Linked DNA regions of Homo sapiens: region 2 is linked to region 1. Evidence: promoter capture Hi-C in human tissues and cell types (Jung and others, 2019). All regions are on one chromosome and are shown on one strand. The core of a region is centred on a gene start or on the middle of the fragment in contact, and the rest is flanking DNA. Distances in the headings are between cores, read along the strand shown. Region 1 holds the start of CNN3 (calponin 3). Region 2 overlaps ABCD3 (ATP binding cassette subfamily D member 3).

Evidence for each region. Contacts are between HindIII fragments. The study calls those that stand out against the background at their distance.
Region 2: a contact is called between a fragment that was not itself captured here and the fragment with the promoter of CNN3 in region 1, in 1 of the 25 tissues and cell types used here (hippocampus).

The regions. Positions count from the first base shown.
Region 1 is chr1:94,924,633-94,930,265 of GRCh38, forward strand. CNN3 (calponin 3) reads right to left here and starts at 2,478. Exons shown (of 7, transcript NM_001839.5): 1 at 2,206-2,478. The coding sequence starts at 2,262. It overlaps CNN3-DT (CNN3 divergent transcript), which reads left to right and starts at 1,728. Exons shown (of 3, transcript NR_168377.1): 1 at 1,728-2,108. RefSeq lists silencers at 1,586-2,015, 2,116-2,995. The HindIII fragment of the contact is 8,752 bases long and covers 1-5,633 here.
Region 2 is chr1:94,472,651-94,478,283 of GRCh38, forward strand. ABCD3 (ATP binding cassette subfamily D member 3) reads left to right here. Exons shown (of 23, transcript NM_002858.4): 5 at 1,116-1,185; 6 at 2,493-2,590; 7 at 2,964-3,087; 8 at 5,609-5,633. Among named protein-coding and RNA genes, the nearest start is that of ABCD3, 57 kb to the left of the region's middle. The HindIII fragment of the contact is 6,153 bases long and covers 220-5,633 here.

The sequences.
Region 1 (5,633 bases), core at 1,228-3,727:
GAAAAAAAAATGGGGGGAAGGCGACAGACAGCAGAGTTTGTGTAGAACATCCCTAAGTACTTCACTCAACTAAGACATCGCTTTTAGAGTTAAAATTCTTAGAATAGTCCAACTTCTGTGACCTTGAGCAAATCTTTCTGAGCTTCAGTGTACTGATCTGTAAATGATGTTGGATAATCCCAGCAATCCTCCTCACCTTACAGGACTGCTCTGCTGTTAAGATCAAAAGACTTCCTATGAAAGAATACTGTCTGAAAGGACTACAAAAATGAAACGGGTTATTAAAAAATGGGTTTGGTGCTTAAAGGGATAAATCCACAGCTTTCATAACTAACTTTCCAAAGGTTCTAAAAACTGAGGTTTTACCGTTTTTAAATATTTACAATAATTACAGTGATCTAGCCTGTGTATGCATTTCCTTGGATCTGCTCAGTATTAAGCAGGAAAAGGGCAAAAGCTGCTACATTAGTCAGCAAAAAAGAAATTAGCATGGATATTATTAACATCCAAGAAAAGTAAGTCACTTGAAGGGCTGCCAACGTTATCAGTACCTCATTTACAATGCAAAAGGTAGTAGAGACTCAACTGCTGCCAGCCAAGAATCACTGGGGGGAATTACAATGAATGTGCACAACCAGGCCAAAGTATCACATCACATCCAACATTTTGGACATGCCCATTCCTCTGAAGTTTCCTAAAGTTCGGTTTGTAAATCCTGGAAGGAAGGAAACAGTAACTTGTTACAAACTTTTCAGTTGGTGAGGTTTGCACTCAATCATACACAAACCATTCACCTTTCTGCTCTCTAAAAAAATTGTTAGCAAACTGTTGTCTAATACGGGCAACACGTTTGAAAAGGTAAAGGACCTAAACATTTCAACTTTAGATACATAGACTAAAATCAACTCCTTGCTTCAAAGACAGTATGATGTGCAGACTAACAGCGGGAGACAAGAGCCACAACTCTCCCTTGGGGTTTGACAACGGTGCGCTTCATTACCTCTTTACATAATTCGCTTCACACCGCCTACCCCCGCAGCCCCGGGATGTTCCAGCTCTGACAATGCCAGTGCCTTCCACCAGCGGTCGGACGGTGCGGTGGCAATCCTGACATGCTTGGGCTCCCGGGAGGTTAATGGGAATTAAACCACAGGCAGCCCTCCTTTGTGGCGCTTTGGCCAGAACAGCAGAAAGGAGACAATGAGCGTTCTGTGCACAGTTCCGCGCCGATTGGCTGGTCTCTCCCCCCAGAAACCCCTGATGTCATGGGCTTGGAATGCAGGGAGGGAGGAAGGAAGGAGAGGATTTGGGGAGGGGGACGCCTCTCATCTCTTTCCCAGGCCAAAAGTCCTAAAGATAAACCTAACGCATTCTTGGGCTCAGTGGCAAAGCTGAGCGTCACCAAATCCCAATCGCTCCAAACTATAAGCCGCCTCAGCAAACAAGCCCCAAACAAAAGCAACCCACAAAAATAATCCTTTATGTCGTGAAAGTCTAATGTACTTCAAACTTCTCAGTGTTTCATAAAAAGTCTCAAGCCTAAGCAGATATCACTCGCACAGTGGCGCGCTCAGGCTTTGTCTCCATTTCCCGCAAAAGCAACAGCAGAAGCAGCAGCAGCAATCTGCCTCCAAATGCCTCCCAGGCACCGAGATCGGAGACTGTGATGGGTCCCGGACCGGCTTCCGTTCCTCGGGGCCCCTGGGGTCGGCGGGACATTAGGCGGTCTCTCTCCCCGTGGGGAGGCGCGGAGTCCGCCAGCACCCGGGGCCCGGGCAGATGGCGGGGGCTGCGGCAGCGGCTCGCCGGGTCCCTGGCCGCGCAGACGGGCTCCGCCTAAGGGCGAGTGGCCACGCAGGAGCGCCCCCTTCCCGGAGGGCGCGTTCTGCAGTCACCAAACGGCCCCCGAGACCCCCGCAGCCGGAAAGGCTGGCGCCGCGGGACTCCAGGCGCCCGGGAACCCACCGCCAGCCACTAGTCCTGTCCCACGGCGCGGGAACAAAGCCAGGCGGGTGCCCGGGAGCCGGCCCCGCAAGCCCGGGGACTGGACGCGACCGGGACAGGCAGAGACGCTCGCGCCGCCTCGACGGCCCCTCTCCAGGAAAACGGTGAGCCACAGCGCGAAGAGCAAACGAAGCACGGCCCAGCGCCAGGCCAGCCCAAGGGTGCCCCGGGGGCCCCCGCGCCCGCCCGAGCCAGGCGTACCTTGTTCTTGACTTCGGCCGAGAGCCCATAGGAAGGGCCCTTGTTGAAGTGGGTCATGGTGGTTCGGGCGGCGGGAAGAGACAGCGCTGGGGTCCGGGGTCTCTCGCACTTCGCTTCCCCGCTCCTGGCCCCGAGGAGTGGCCGCCGCGGGGGATGCTCGAACTCCCTCCTCTGGGAGGCGCAGGAGACGGCCGCGGGGCGCGGGCGGTGCCTGGGCGACTGGGTCCAACTGGGTGCTACAGAGCCTCGAGCTCCGCTGCGAAGCACCCGGCTGCCTCGCTCGCCGCCCGCACCTCGGTTCCCCACAGGCCGCCCCCGCCTCCGCCTGGGCCTTCGAGGATTGGCCGCCGGGCCCGACCAATGGAGGGCCGCCTCCTCCCGCCTCTGCGCCGAGGGGCGGTGCGGCCAATTGAAGGGCCGCGGGGGCCGCTTTCCCTCCCGCTCCCTCCCCGCGAGGTCCCCGGCCCCCGCCCCAGCCCTCACGCCACCGGGGCCGGCGGCTAGGCGGCCCCGCCCCCGGGCTAGGCAGGGCGCCTGGGGGCTTCCCAGCCACAGGCCATTCACGTCAACCTCCAGGCATCCTCCGCGGCGGGCCGGACCGGGCCGGCGGAGGGGAGCGGAAGCCCACCGGGGCTGGCCCGCCGCTGACCCGCCGCCTCCGTCTGCCTCCTCCCGGGCTCTGGGCCCAGCGCGCCCAGATGCCGGGCAGGACCCCTCCGCCCGCTGCTGGAACACCAATAGCAGCGTTGGAGCCTCTGGGCCGGAGGAACTGGGGCCTCCACCGACACCTGCTTCTTCCCTCACCTCGCAGCCTTCCACACCTGTTGATCTGACCTCTGCCCCGCTGCCGCCCAGGAGTAACCTAAGGCTTTTGGCCTGATTCGAGCTCACTCCGTCTAAACCTCTAAATGCGGTGCGAAAAAATCCTGGGGAATGTGCCATGCAAAGCCTGGGCATTTCAAGTGCTTTTCTGGATTCGCATCAACTCCTCTTTACAGGCATCTTTATCCGGAATTCAGCTCGTCCCAAACCCCACGTGGTGTAGCTCTGCTTGTGTTTTTGAATCCCGGGGCCTCTTTGAATCAGAAGCCCTTTGTATAGAGATAAGTATCCTTTAGGCCAGAATCAGCCTCCATTTTTTTCGCAGTCCCATTTCCTACCCGTAATACTTTCTTCTGATTTTAAAGCCATTTGATAGAGAAGGGACAGGGAACAGAACCTTCGCCCCCCGCCTGAGCAGCTGGTAGACTAGATATCTTCCAAACATTATCTCATTTACTTCCCTGGAGTTACAAATAGGTAGATTTCATGTCCGTTGAGGGGTGAGAAAGCTGAAACTTTGAGACTTAAGAATCCTGGCCGAGGTCAGCCTCCTCCGAAGCTTCATCTCTTGCCACCACTTTCTGGTGCACACCTAGGACAGATTTCAATCCCTGAGATCCCAGGATGAAACCTATGTTTGCCAAATACCAGCTACTGTGCCAGAAGAGATCATGGAACCAGGTGTGGAAAGCTGCTTGAGAAGAGGAGCCAAAACATCATAGTTGAACCGTCCTGGAATAGAAGTGAGTAAGGTGAACCAGGTGTGGTGGCTCATGCCTGTAATCCTAGCACTTTGGGAGACCGAGGTGGGAGGATTGCTTGAGGCCTGGAGTTCAGGAACATCCTGGGCAACATAGCAAGATCCTGTCTCTACAAAAAATCCAAAGTTTTTTTAAATTAAAAAAAAAAAGTGAGTAAGGCAGCTTGAACCGGAAATGCACAAAACTGCTATCCAGTTTGCAAGGCTTTTCCCAATGACTTTGAGGGATGGAACCTGAAGGAAGCGGGAGGAGGCAAATAGGGAGGAAAGTGAAATGATTTATAAATGACTTGCTAATTTTGTCCAAAGGGAGTAATGATAATTAGGGCATTCTTCCCACACGAAGATGACACAATTGACCCAATATCATTGAGGCTAACAGTTTGGGCTGTTTTTCCAGTAGTATGACAGTGACGGTGTGTCAACCGCAGGACCTCACCCACATTTCTTTGGGACCTAGGAGTGTGGGAAATAGCAGCCAGATTTGAGGTACAAATCATGGTGTCCAGCCTGCAAAGCCTTTTTGCAGCAATCTAAGCCTGACTGCTCCTGTTGTATGCTCAAAGTCATTTTAATCTACTTTAGCTTATTGTAAAATGTTCAAGAATTGTATTTTGTCTTGAAAACCATGAATTTTATTGTTTAGGGGGAGTTATTTTTTAAGGAGTGCAGGATTTCAGTTTTGGATGATGAAAAAGTTTTGAAGATGGGTAGTGACAGTGGTCACACAACATTGTAAATGTACTTAATGCCATTGTACACTTACGTGACTTTAAAGTAAACATGAAATTTTCTACATTTGTTTGTTTGATCAACTGTTATCCTCCCTAAGGTACTTGAAGTTCTTTCTGACATTGCCACTGGAACTTACTATTTAAATATTGTTGGTCCTCTTGGATTCCATCAGTACTCCAGAGACTTCCTTCGTTTCTAATTTAACTCATTGTGTAAGAATACGTAATGCTGTTGTTAGCACTAGGGAATGTATCTGAGTCTCATGCACCAAAGTGTGTTAGCAGCAGCAAATCTGTATGGGTCTGCAGCAACCTCAATTCTTGCCTCCTCCAAAGAAAGAATTCTACCGAGAGGCATAAGGCAGAGGGAGAGGCCAAGGCACGTTTTAGAGCAGGAGTGAAAGTTAGAGCAAGAATGAAACGAAGTAATGTACACTTGGAAGAGGGCCAGGCGGGCAACTTGAGAGATTCAAGTGCGCTGCTTGACCTTTGACTTGGGGTTTTATACATTGGCATGCTTCCAGGGGGTTGTGTCCCTTTTCCCCTGATTCTTCCCTTGAGGTGGGCTGTCTGCATGTGCAGTGGCCTGCCAGCACTTGGGAGGGACCACATGCTCAGTGTGTTAACTGAGGTTGTACGCATGCTCACTTGAGGCATTCTTCGCTTACTAGTCAAGTGTTCCTAGAAGAAGGTCATATATGAGTACCAGTTAAATGCCACCATTTTGCCTCTTAGTTCACACCTGTGAGCCCACTCAGCCAACTCCTAAGATCCTATCCAGAAGCTGCTGATCACCAGTTGTAGGTATTTTCTAGCCATTGGGAGACTGCCTTTCCCTGGTGCCGGCTGTGACCAGTTATTATTTTAGAGAGACAGTTTAACAACTGCCTGACCACCTGATGGTTGCGTGACATTCCTGGTGGGAGCGGGGAGCCCTCTCCTGCTCTGCTTGTGTCTGACTACCTACTGTGGCACTATAGAATCAAATGAGAAAAACTTAAAATTTGGGACAATTTTAACAGCTTTATTGAAGTATATTGATATAACAAAGTATATTTAAAGTGTTCAGTTTGATACACACATATACACATAGATACACCTATTTAAAAACC
Region 2 (5,633 bases), core at 2,046-4,545, 450 kb before region 1:
GGTCTTTGGTAAAGACATTTGTTAGATTTGTTTAACCTAGGATTTCCCAAATTTATCCATCTAGTCCCTCACAGAAAAGAAATTATTTCTCTAGTCATATACTAGTAATTTTTGTGTGTGCGTGGGCAGCTAGGTTTAAACCACTTAGTCCAGTGTTTAAATGTTTTATATAAATATGTCTTATGAAATTTGGGAACATTATTAAGTATTACTTGAAGTAAGAGTTCTGTGATCAAATACATACTATCTTTGTATTAGGTCATAGACATATCTTACTCAAAGATCCTTTACTTATATAATACTGCTTTGTTCAAATTTTTAATAAAGTTTTAGAACCCTTTTTAAAAATTTTTAATGTATATTTTAAAAGCAGAAAAATATGTAAAACAGATTAACAACAGGCAAAAGAGAAGCTAGTCTAGCTGAAGTGTGTTGAGGAACATGAAGCTTCTGTAGATCCATTCTGGGCTCTGATCTATGCGTTAGTCCCAGTATTGGCAAACTAGGACCCACAGGTCAAATCTCACTACCTGCCATCTGTTTTGGTAAAGTTTTATTAGAATACAGCCACACTTCTTGGCTGCTTTTGTTTTACAGTGGCAGAATTGAGTAGTTGCAGCGGAGCCCTTAGGGTGCACAAAGCCTAAAATATTTACTCTTGACCCTTTGCTGATCCCCATTAAGTCTGTCTCCCTGCCATTAGTTCACACAAATGAGAATCAGATTATTAAAATATTTTAAAACAAACAAATGGTACTTTGTTTATTCATAATAACCCATTCCTGGGACTATAAAGTTGTTAATTGTTATGCTAGCTTAGTTTCTTTTGTAGCCACTTAAGCCTTTTTTTAAAGCAGCCATTTTTACTAAGAAATAATTAGTTATCATTCTGTTTAATTTTGCCATTTGCAGGATGAGGTTCCAGCAAGTTCAAAATGATGACATTTTAAAGTTGCAAACATGTTTTTGCAAAAAAGTGGTTTTTAGCATCTTTTTTATTGATTGTTTTGATTTAATAGAAGTTTCCAAGAGTAATTTTAGAGCTTTACAGAAGTTTTCCTAGTGTTAGATTTTGCTTCTTTTGCAACTAATGCATTGCATGTGGTGGTTTGCAGTGGTATCATTGGTCGTAGCAGGAAAGATTTCAAGAGATACTTACTCAACTTCATCGCTGCCATGCCTCTTGTAAGTTTAATTCATTAAAAATCTTTTTAACACGGGAAATTTGCATCTTATTAAAATCTTTAAGGGTTTTACTTATTAAATTCTTTAAAGACTTATGATACTAAGTTCCTATTTTCAGTTTAGTTTTGTAATTTATAATATAATTTTCAATGTAAACCTTCATACTAGATAAAAAAGGGATTATGTTTGGTTTAATTTCATTTATAATGTGTATATATATTCATATACATATGTATGTGGGTGAGGGGTTTTTTGGCATTTTTTTTTTAACCTTCAGTCCAGGTTTTCTTCAGTGTTTAGCATCATCAATGACCATTAGATAGCAGTAGCACCCTTCTCCTAGTTCTAACAACCAGAAATGATTCCAGTCATTGCAAAATGGGTATGGGCAGGGGGCAACTTGGGGAGTTGGGGGGATTTAGAGGGGGGAATGCAAATCATCCTGGTTACTTTAGGCCATAAACTATTACAGTAACTTGAACTACTAATTTACTTTAAGTTAAATTGGAATTTATGGTCTGAATTTTTTACAGATAAATTGTTTAGTCTAAAATATAAGTGATTTTCTTAGGTTGGTTCTCATTTTAATTTTCTTGGCGCTGTAAGAATGTAATATTCTGAATTTGTGGGTAAAAATGAGAAGCTTGGTTGTAAAATCCAGTTATGTTGAAATTGCCAGAAATTCTTGTTTAATAAAGCTGGAAGCTGGGGCTACATAGCTTTTAGACTTTTTAAAATAAACAATTGGAATAAGCAACATAGATATCAAAGATTAAGATTCAGCAAAGACCACTTGAGAAAATTTGTAATGTAACGATGGAAAATGTTAGTAAAGATGGCTCTAGAAATAATCTGGAAAATAGCATTAGTTGGTGTAAAACCTGTAGTGTTTTTTTTTTTTAACAAATGCAAATATAGTGTATATAGAATTCCGTTGTCTAGGGTTGTAGTGCTGATAGTAGGAAACAGAAAATATAAATGTCTGAACTCCTAAAAGCAAGTCTTTACATTGGCTAGAAAGGGGATATATTTGACTTTTTGCCCGTTTACCAAAAAAAATGGGCAAGGTATGTCGCGTAATTAGTGATATTAACATATTCCATGTAAACTTTAACATAGAATAATTCAAACGAGGTACATTTGGTTTAGCTAAATGCAGTAAAGTAAAACAGAACTGAATTATATAAATTTGGACTAAATTATAAAAATTGTAGGATTTGGGACACAGGAAATAATAGAGAAATAAATTATAGTTTAGTAAGCAGAAATGAAAAGCAAAACCAATAATATTTGTTTGTTTGTTTTAGATCTCTCTGGTTAATAACTTCTTGAAGTATGGGTTAAATGAGCTTAAACTGTGCTTCCGAGTAAGGCTCACTAAATACCTCTATGAGGAGTATCTTCAGTAAGTGATAACCTATTTTTATATTAAAAATATTTAAATAGAAGAGTATTTATGAAGCTGATCAATATAGCAGTTTTTCTTATTTATTGTATGTTTTCTAAGAAAACCACTCTTAGGTACAGAAGCATGTTGGGAACAACCTTTCAGTTATTTGGAATCTAGTCCTGGCTCTTCCATTAATTGACAAGTCATCATTTTCTGGACTTGTGTCCTCCTCTCTAAAAATCAGTTAGGGCAATCAATAGGATCTCTTCTGGCTCCAAACTTTTTTGTTTCTATGTATTTGAGCTAGGTGGTGTAATATGATTTTTTTGTTGTTGTTTTATCTTTAAAGTCACTTGTTTTAAAATCACTTTTCTTCTTGCTATTTTAGAGCTTTCACATATTATAAAATGGGGAATCTGGACAACAGAATAGCTAATCCAGACCAGCTGCTTACACAAGATGTAGAAAAATTTTGTAACAGTGTAGTCGATCTGTATTCAAATCTTAGTAAGGTAAGTTTCTCTCCTTTTTAAAAGATTATTTGTTTAATTTTTTGAATTTTGAATCTAAGCAAATTTATATAGAATTGATTTTGTGGACATAACAGCAGCATGTAAATATTTAATGCTTTTATAAGAAAATTAGAGTTGTTGTAATAGTTTTAATTATTTTAATTTTTTCTATTATTTTTGTGAGGTACTTTGGCAAAGAACTGATAATTTAGTGTCTTATAAGGATTTTCTAAGAATTTTGCAGGTTGATTCCATTAAAACAACAGAAATTTGAATTCTCATCTTTTGACCTGTGTGCATCCGGCCATTGTTAGAGATTGACTGTCAATTTATGTTTCTAACTCCACACTTATAACACTAGACTAGGACTTCCTTTCTGCCCATTTCTCTGCTTCAGTATCTTTAATTCTAATAGATCATTAGTAAGTAGTAGTCAAAAAATTTCACAAGATGCAAGTATATTTCAGTTTTCTAATTACTGTTTTTCCCATTCTCCTCAGAATATTGCCAAAGCTCCTGACTGTGATAGGCCTTAGTCAGTTTTCCTTCTTCTCACTGATTTCTCCAGTTCTTATCTTAGTCATGTTATCTCACCACCCTTACAGCTTTTGCTGTAGTCTTCTTATTAAACCCTCTTCTTTGCCATTACCTCTTGCATTGACTATGATATGTAGTAGGCACCTATAAAATAGTCTGCCCAGCATCCCCTCCCCTCTTCATCTGAGATGCTTCAGTTCCCACTCTAACTCATGTGACTTCCCTTGGTGTTGGCTAGGAGCTTGTCTCATACTGGACCAATGATAGTATCTTTGCCTCTGGTCACAGTTGACCTAGATATACAGTTTTGAGACAAAAGAAAACCAAAACTATAAAAAGGACTGGGTCACATTGTAAGAATAGGAATGTTCTTGCTTCAACCAGATGGATGGAGGGAAGGCAATTCTTAGAGATATATATCCACAAGAGCTGCTCTCCTCATGCCCAGGCCCAATGCTTTTCACTTCCAGCCCAACTTTGTTATTTATTTAGCTCTCCAGAAGCCTTTGCTAACTGATCCCAAACTCGGGAACTCTGACAACTACAAATAGTTCAGTAATTAAGCTTTCTTTTCTGTTCCCATTACCACATTTGAAAGTTTGTTCTCTCTCTTTCTCTCTCTCTCTGTCTCTGTGTGTGTATGTGTGTGTGTATGCATGCATGCATGGTGGGAATGGGGGGTGTATCTATACAACTTTCCATGTAATTTTATAGACATTATTATGTATTCTTTAAATCTTGGCACTTGAGCAAGTCTCAGGTTTTGTCAAATCTGGAATACAGAAGAATATTAAATTAAGTACTTGTAGTGGGGCTGTACACCAGTGTGTAAGTTAGATGTTTTAAACATCTAATTGACCTCCAACTTAAATTATGAGTCATTATTTTTGTCATAAGTTTTAACAGTTCTTGAATTTTATAAGTATCTCTAGCTTCTTGATAACTTATAAGGCAAAAAAAAAAAAAAAAAAAAAAAAAAAAGGAAAGGGAAAGGTAGATGTTGAAACAAGCCAGTTAACAAACCAAGCCATCTATCCTAGTAATAATGTGGATTAGAAAGTGCTGGCTGTTGGCCGGGCATAGTGGCTCATCCCTGCAATCACAATACTTTGGGAGGCCAAGGTGGGCAGATCGCTTGAGCCCAGGAGTTCAAGACTATCCTGGGCAACATGGTGAAACCCCATCTACAAAAAATACAAAAATTACCCAGGCATGGTAATGTGCGCCTGTACTCCCAGCTACTCCAGAGGCTGCAGTGAGCCAAGATCTCCAGCCTGGGTGACAGAGCCAGACCCTGTCTCAAAAAAAAAAGTGGAGGTGCAAGCAGTGGCTGTTGACTTAAAGTGAATGAACACAATTTGTGTTTCTTGAAAAACATTTCAAACTAATGCAGCTGATGGTGCATTAGTTGAGTTGTCTCTGTGTGTAAAGAGCAGTACATTAATGTGTTATTTTGGTTCTAGAGACTTGAGTTTTATATCACAAAATTAGATTCAATGGCTTACTTGATTATTTTGCCATGGAAGTGATAAAGTAATAGAGTCAAACAATATTGGAGCAGGAAAAGCTCCTCACTTTACAGGTGAAGATATGTAGAAACAAACTGGTAGCAGATTTGGGGTTACATCTCAGGTCATTTTATTCAGTGTCTTTACATTATATTGACACATTACTGAGTTACTAGTGGTTAATTATCACAGTAGAGGTATCTTAGTTGATGGAAAGTGATAAATGTTTTTCCTACTTGATGGTCAGTAGACATTGTGTAAGCTGTTCCCATTTTAAGTTTCTTGAGAGGAAAACTGTTATCTTTCATGTATTCTTTGATCTACTTACTATCACAGTACATTGTACATAGTGGGACCTCTACATGTTGATAATTATATATTAAATGTTTAATGACATTTTATAGTTAACATGTTGTATTAGCTATCATTCTAGTGCTTTAGTTTTAATTCTGTGTATTCTAATATTTATTTTACAGCCATTTTTAGACATAGTTTTGTATA